2 separate regions of the Homo sapiens genome follow, and region 1 is linked to region 2. Evidence: promoter capture Hi-C in 16 types of primary human blood cells and fetal thymus (Javierre and others, 2016). All regions are on one chromosome and are shown on one strand. Each heading gives the region's core, a stretch centred on a gene start or on the middle of the fragment in contact. The rest is flanking DNA. Distances are from core to core; before and after follow the strand shown. Region 1 holds the start of QDPR (quinoid dihydropteridine reductase). Region 2 holds the start of ZCCHC4 (zinc finger CCHC-type containing 4).

Region 1 (2,700 bases), core at 81-2,580, 7.8 Mb after region 2:
TGTTTTCAGAAAAACTCTAAGGGAAACACTTGATTCCCAACAAGCCTTTGTCTTGCTGAACAAAGGTGTGGTTAAGTGGAACTCTAGCTATTGAAGACCTGTGTTCAAATTCCCACTCTTCCAGACAAGTGTCTGTGACTCTCATGCCTCAGCTTTCTAATCTGCATAGGATTATCGTGTGGAGTAAAGTGAAATAGCACAGGCAGATCACTTAGCGCAGTGCCTTGGATATAAGGAGCACTAAATAGATGGTGCTCTCCTCTCCATCCAGCCTCCTAGCAGTTCTATTTCTGATAATGAAGCTTCTGACAACAAAATGTGCTGCTGGCTGCATCCTCTTCTCTAGTGACATATTTCTGCATGCTTTACCTGGCACAAGTTTACTGAACAAACATCTGTGTCTGCTGTGTACAAGGTTATATGTGGATGGGAAGTGACACAAAGATGTATGTAATACAGGGTTCTGCTATCAAGAAGGTTATGAGAGTGTTAGAGCTCTGGTTCTCTATCAGTGATGAATTTGCCCCTAGGAGACAACTGTTAAATCTGGAGATATTTTTGATTCTTATGAGTGAGGGGTAGGGGTTTGCTATTGATTTCTAGTATATGCAGGCCAGGGATGCTGTAAATATCCTACAGTACCCAGGGCAGCACCTGTCACAAATAATTATCTGGCCCAAAATGTCAGTAGTGCTGTAGATGAGAGGCTCTGTGTTAAAGATACAGGCCATGGGCAGAAATAACTAATATACAAGGGAGAAAATGCCAGGATCTGTGTCTGGCGATGGGTGGCATATAGTAAAAGGGCCATTTGGATTAATGGGTATAAATTTACGGTTAGATAGAAGAAATAAGACCTAGTGTGGTTTGTCTCGTCTCGGCGGTGGACTTTCAGCTCCTTGAGCGGAGCGACCTCTTCTGTTTTTTTGGCAGGTGGGAATACTTAAATCTCTATTTTGATGCACAATTAAAAATAAAAAATTGCCAAAACAGTGGTCGAAAATTGTACTATACTATATTTTACATGCTTACACTTCACAAATTAATGCTCGTAAAACACCCGCTCTCCACCCTCCTCGCCCTTAGCCCGGCTCGCTGCACGCCCCGAGGCCCAGCACTTGCTGGCGGGTGGGAGGAGGGGCTTCGCCGATGTCCCCGTCCCAGGGGCAGGGCCTGGCCGAAGTTACAGTCCCTCCGGGTGGCGGGGCGCCCCGAGCGTGGCAGCGCGCTAGGCGGCAGCAGCGGGCGCGGAGCGGGGCGCGGCCGCCGCGCGTTCCCTCTTGGCGGGGTTGGCCGGCCGGGGCGGGGCGCGGCGCTCCGGCTCGAGGCATTCGGAGCTGCGGGAGCCGGGCTGGCAGGAGCAGGATGGCGGCGGCGGCGGCTGCAGGCGAGGCGCGCCGGGTGCTGGTGTACGGCGGCAGGGGCGCTCTGGGTTCTCGATGCGTGCAGGCTTTTCGGGCCCGCAACTGGGTAATGCTGCGGGCTGGGGCTGCTGGGTCTCCGCGGGGGTGGCCGGGGGCTTTCGTGTGGAACCCGGCGGGGGGCAGTCTAGAGGAAGGTGGGGGCCCCTGTGCACCCCCTGACTCGTGTTGCTTGCACGTGCGCGCACAGGTCTACGCGTCTATTCCTGTTTCCGAGTGCGTGCGCACGCCAGTCCCAGGGCGCTGGGCCTTTGCTGTGCAAGGAGGTGCTCCGTGGGCCTCCGCCAGACCCAAAAAGTCCGGCGTGACTCGGGAGAGAATTCCAAAGGGGAGGAACGGGAGCAGGGGTGAGAGGACGGAGAGAGAGTGTAGAAGGAAGGCTCTAGAATGAGACAGCCCAGTCCCGGTTACTAGTCATGAGACCGCGTATTGATTACCTAACGCCGTAGGACCTCGGTTTCCCCATTTGTACAACGGAGATTCTGACAGTGAGAGTTGGGACGATTAGATGAGATAATTGGTGTCGTTGCACATAAATTACCTGACGCCTGGTAAAAACTGTTTAAATGCTGTCTATTAATGTTACTATTACTACCCACCCCTGTTCTTTTAGCCCCATTGGATCTGACAGTTTGAAGGCTCAGCACGGAAAAACGCTGACGGCTTCTTTGCTCTGCAAAGACTATTTCAACTACTTTGCATAGTCAGGTGTCAATTTCCAGGAGGCGGCAAGTCGGAGCAGAGCTGATACATGGCCAAAGACCCTTGACCTCAGCCGCTCAGCAGGCCTCAGCAATTTCCCGGTGGAGACACTGCCAGCGGCAGCGTTCTGGGAGCTTAGTTAGCAGCAGCAGCACAGCAGCCTGGGCAAGAGTTCCCCTGGGACCAGAAAAAGGCTTTCAGGATTTTCTTTAAAAAAAAACTATCTAATTTTTATAGATGAAGGGGGCAAAAGTACAGTTTAGTTACATGGATATGTTGTGTAGTGGTGAAGTCTGGGCTTTTAGTGTAACCATCACCCAAATAGTGTACATTTACCAAGGTTTTCTTGTTGCTCAGAATCTGGTACAGGAATATGCTTCTGAAGAATTCAGTCACACCACTCCCTTCCTGCCACCCATCTGCTCAGTGCTTGGGGACACTGATGAGGGCGCTTTCCCAGGTCTTCAGAGATGCATGGTGGTGACAGAGGCAGCACTTCTGCCAAGGGCCAGGCACTGTGTTCCCAGTACCAGAGTTCCCATAGACTCTTAATGCCCCCAATATCTTTAAGGCAGTA
Region 2 (2,700 bases), core at 59-2,558:
TCCCTTGGGTCACCTTTACAAACAGAAGAGTGGGTCCTAGTTCCAGAATAGAAAAAAAAAAAAAAAGTGTCAAGTAATGGTCATCTACGTCAAGTTCTTAGTTTTCGCTGCCCTTAAATAAAATTTGTTTGAGCTTTAGGCACAATTTATCATAATTAAATCCATCTCTTTGGTTGGTTGTTTTTTGTTTTGTTAGGGTTTTTTGTTTTGTTTTCTTGAGACAGGGTCTCCCTCTGTCGCCCAGGCTGAAGCGCACTGGCACAATCATGGCTCACTGAGATCCTGCTTCCTAGCCTCAAGCGATTCTCCCGCCTCAGCATCCCGAGTAGCTGGGACTACAGTTGCGTGTCCCCAGCTGTTTTTCTTTTTTTGTAGACGGAGTGTCATCATTTTTGCCCGGGCTAGTCTCAAACTCCTGGGCTCAAGCGATCAGCCCGCCTCGGCCCCCCAAGTGCTGGAACTACAGGTGCACGCCACCACGCCGGCTTCTCTGTGTTTAATGAATGTTTCTTTTCTCTCTGTTACAACATTCCGGCAGTGACTACTTATAAATAATTTTTGAAAACCGGTCTCTTCAGAAAGAAAATGCTATTGTCGGTACAGTTGCTGTCTACGTTGTGAATATTACAAACCTGAGACTAAAACAAGGAAGGGACTCAGAGAATTGAGGACTTTGACATCTCTTGCGCGGTTACCCTTGCAGTGAAAACCTGAGCTTTGAGCTGGAAACGCCCACTTTCTGTAAGTTAGAGAAAAACTGAGTCTAGTTCGCAGGCAAGAATTACACTGTTTTTCTCCCTAATTTTTTATTTTTGAAGGGAGAGCAAATCAACAAATGAAATCCCCAAGTACTTGTCAACGAGAACTATTCAATACCATGCATTCTTCTCTTTGCCTACTTTTCTGCCCCTTCCCCCCAAAAGAGATGAAATAGTCCTGGAGCCAAAACCACAAGAGTGGAGACTTGCTCTGAATGTTTCTCAAGTAAGTTGAAAAACACCGCGTTCCGAGGAAGGAGTATTTTCTAGGCAGCACACTGGTGAGGGAAAGAGGCGGGTAAAAATACAGGAGCCCCAAAAGCCACTTCCAAGCCAACTCACACCCTCAGCGCCCGGCAGTTAGGCTGAGCCCAGACTCTGACCCACCGTGAGGGCACAGCGGGGCGGGGACGGCAGGATCCAAAGGAAGCACCACCTCCATTCCCGAGCTTCCCCGGCACCCTGCGCTGCCCTCTGCCTCCACGGCTTCAAACCCATTCCTGGAGGCCGCCATCTTCCCGCCGCCGTCCCGAAAGCCTCAGTACGAAACAAGAATGCTGAGAAAGAGCGCCCCCGCGACCCAAAGCGACCCACAGCGCCCCCAGGCGCTTAGGAGGAGCTTGGGCGGGGGCTGCCGCGGCGGAGGCCACGCCCCGAAACGCAGTCCCCGCCCACCTGGGGGCTGCACCTAAGCGGCCCCTAGCGGTGGGGCTCGCAGGTCACTTGCGGGACCTGTGCCATGAGCTCAGCGCATGAAGCACCCTCCTTTCTTAAGAATATAGCCAGGAAGTGAGATGATTCGAACAAAGACTTGGTTGTATTGTAGGTCCAAAAGGCAGCATTACCACCTCTGCCAAATAGCTGAAATGGCTGCAGCAGCTGTGATTTAAGGATCATTCTTTGTTTTTCAAAGTCACAGTCACTGCATCATCCTCTGTAACTTTTGGACAATGCTGAAAGTTGCACATCATAGTTGCATACTCATTGACATTTATACATAAGAAAGAAAGAAAACCGTCCTGATTTGCAGATGACATGATTGTCCACATTTTAAAAATCCGAAAGAATCTATCAGGAAAACACCTCCGGTTTAAACTGAGTTCAGCAAGGTTGCAGGATATGAGATAAACACACAAACATCAACTGGATTTCTAAATACTAGCAATGATCACAAGAACACTAAAAAATAGAATACCACTTACAATCACTCAAATAAATGAAATAGGTGTAAATCTAACGAAATATGTACAGAGCTTTATGTATGCTAAAAACTCCAAAATGCTTGATTAAAAAAAATCAAGGCTGAGTGCAGTGGCTCACACCTGTAATCCCAGCACTTTGGGGGGCCAAGGAGGGAGGATTGCTTGAATCCAGGAGTTCGAAACCAGCCCGGGCAACAAAGCGAGACGACATCTCTAAAATAAATAAGCAATTTTTAAAGTTTTTTAAAAATCAAAGAATAGCCGGGCACGGTGGCTCACGCCTATAATCCCAGAATTTTGGGAGGCCAAGGCAGGTGGATCACAAGGTCAGGAGATCGAGACCATCCTGGCTAACACCGTGAAACCCCGTCTCTACTAAAAATACTAAAAATACAAAAACAAAAAAATTAGCCAGGCGTGGTGGCGGGCACCTGTAGTCCCAGCTACTCGGGAGGCTGAGGCAGGAGAATGGCGTGAACCCGGAAGGCGGAGCTTGCAGTGAGCCGAGATTGTGCCACTGCACTCCAGCCTGGGTGACAGAGTGAGACTCCGTCTTAAAAAAAAAAAAAAAAAATCAAAGAATAAACAAATGCAGAAACATACTGCATTCATAAATCAGAAGACTCAACATAGTAAAGATATCAGTTCTCCCCAGGTTTAATGCTTATACAGGTGTAGCACAATTGCTATGAAAATCCCAGCCAGATTCTTTTTGTACATTTAGACAATATTCTGAAATT

Evidence for each region. The method cuts DNA at HindIII sites, captures the fragments that hold promoters and counts their contacts. A CHiCAGO score of 5 or more calls a contact.
Region 1: the fragment with the promoter of QDPR here is called in contact with the fragment with the promoter of ZCCHC4 in region 2 in 1 of 17 cell types (non-activated CD4 T cells); the score reaches 7.9 in non-activated CD4 T cells.

What each region holds. Positions count from the first base shown.
Region 1 is chr4:17,510,720-17,513,419 of GRCh38, reverse strand. QDPR (quinoid dihydropteridine reductase) reads left to right here and starts at 1,330. Exons shown (of 7, transcript NM_000320.3): 1 at 1,330-1,470. The coding sequence starts at 1,366. RefSeq lists a silencer at 1,122-1,701. The HindIII fragment of the contact is 4,464 bases long and covers 305-2,700 here.
Region 2 is chr4:25,311,382-25,314,081 of GRCh38, reverse strand. It overlaps ZCCHC4 (zinc finger CCHC-type containing 4), which reads right to left and starts at 1,308. Exons shown (of 13, transcript NM_024936.3): 1 at 1,146-1,308; 2 at 1-36. The coding sequence starts at 1,272. RefSeq lists enhancers at 1,190-1,249, 778-1,654 and silencers at 1,248-1,452, 1,460-1,529. The HindIII fragment of the contact is 7,197 bases long and covers 1-2,700 here.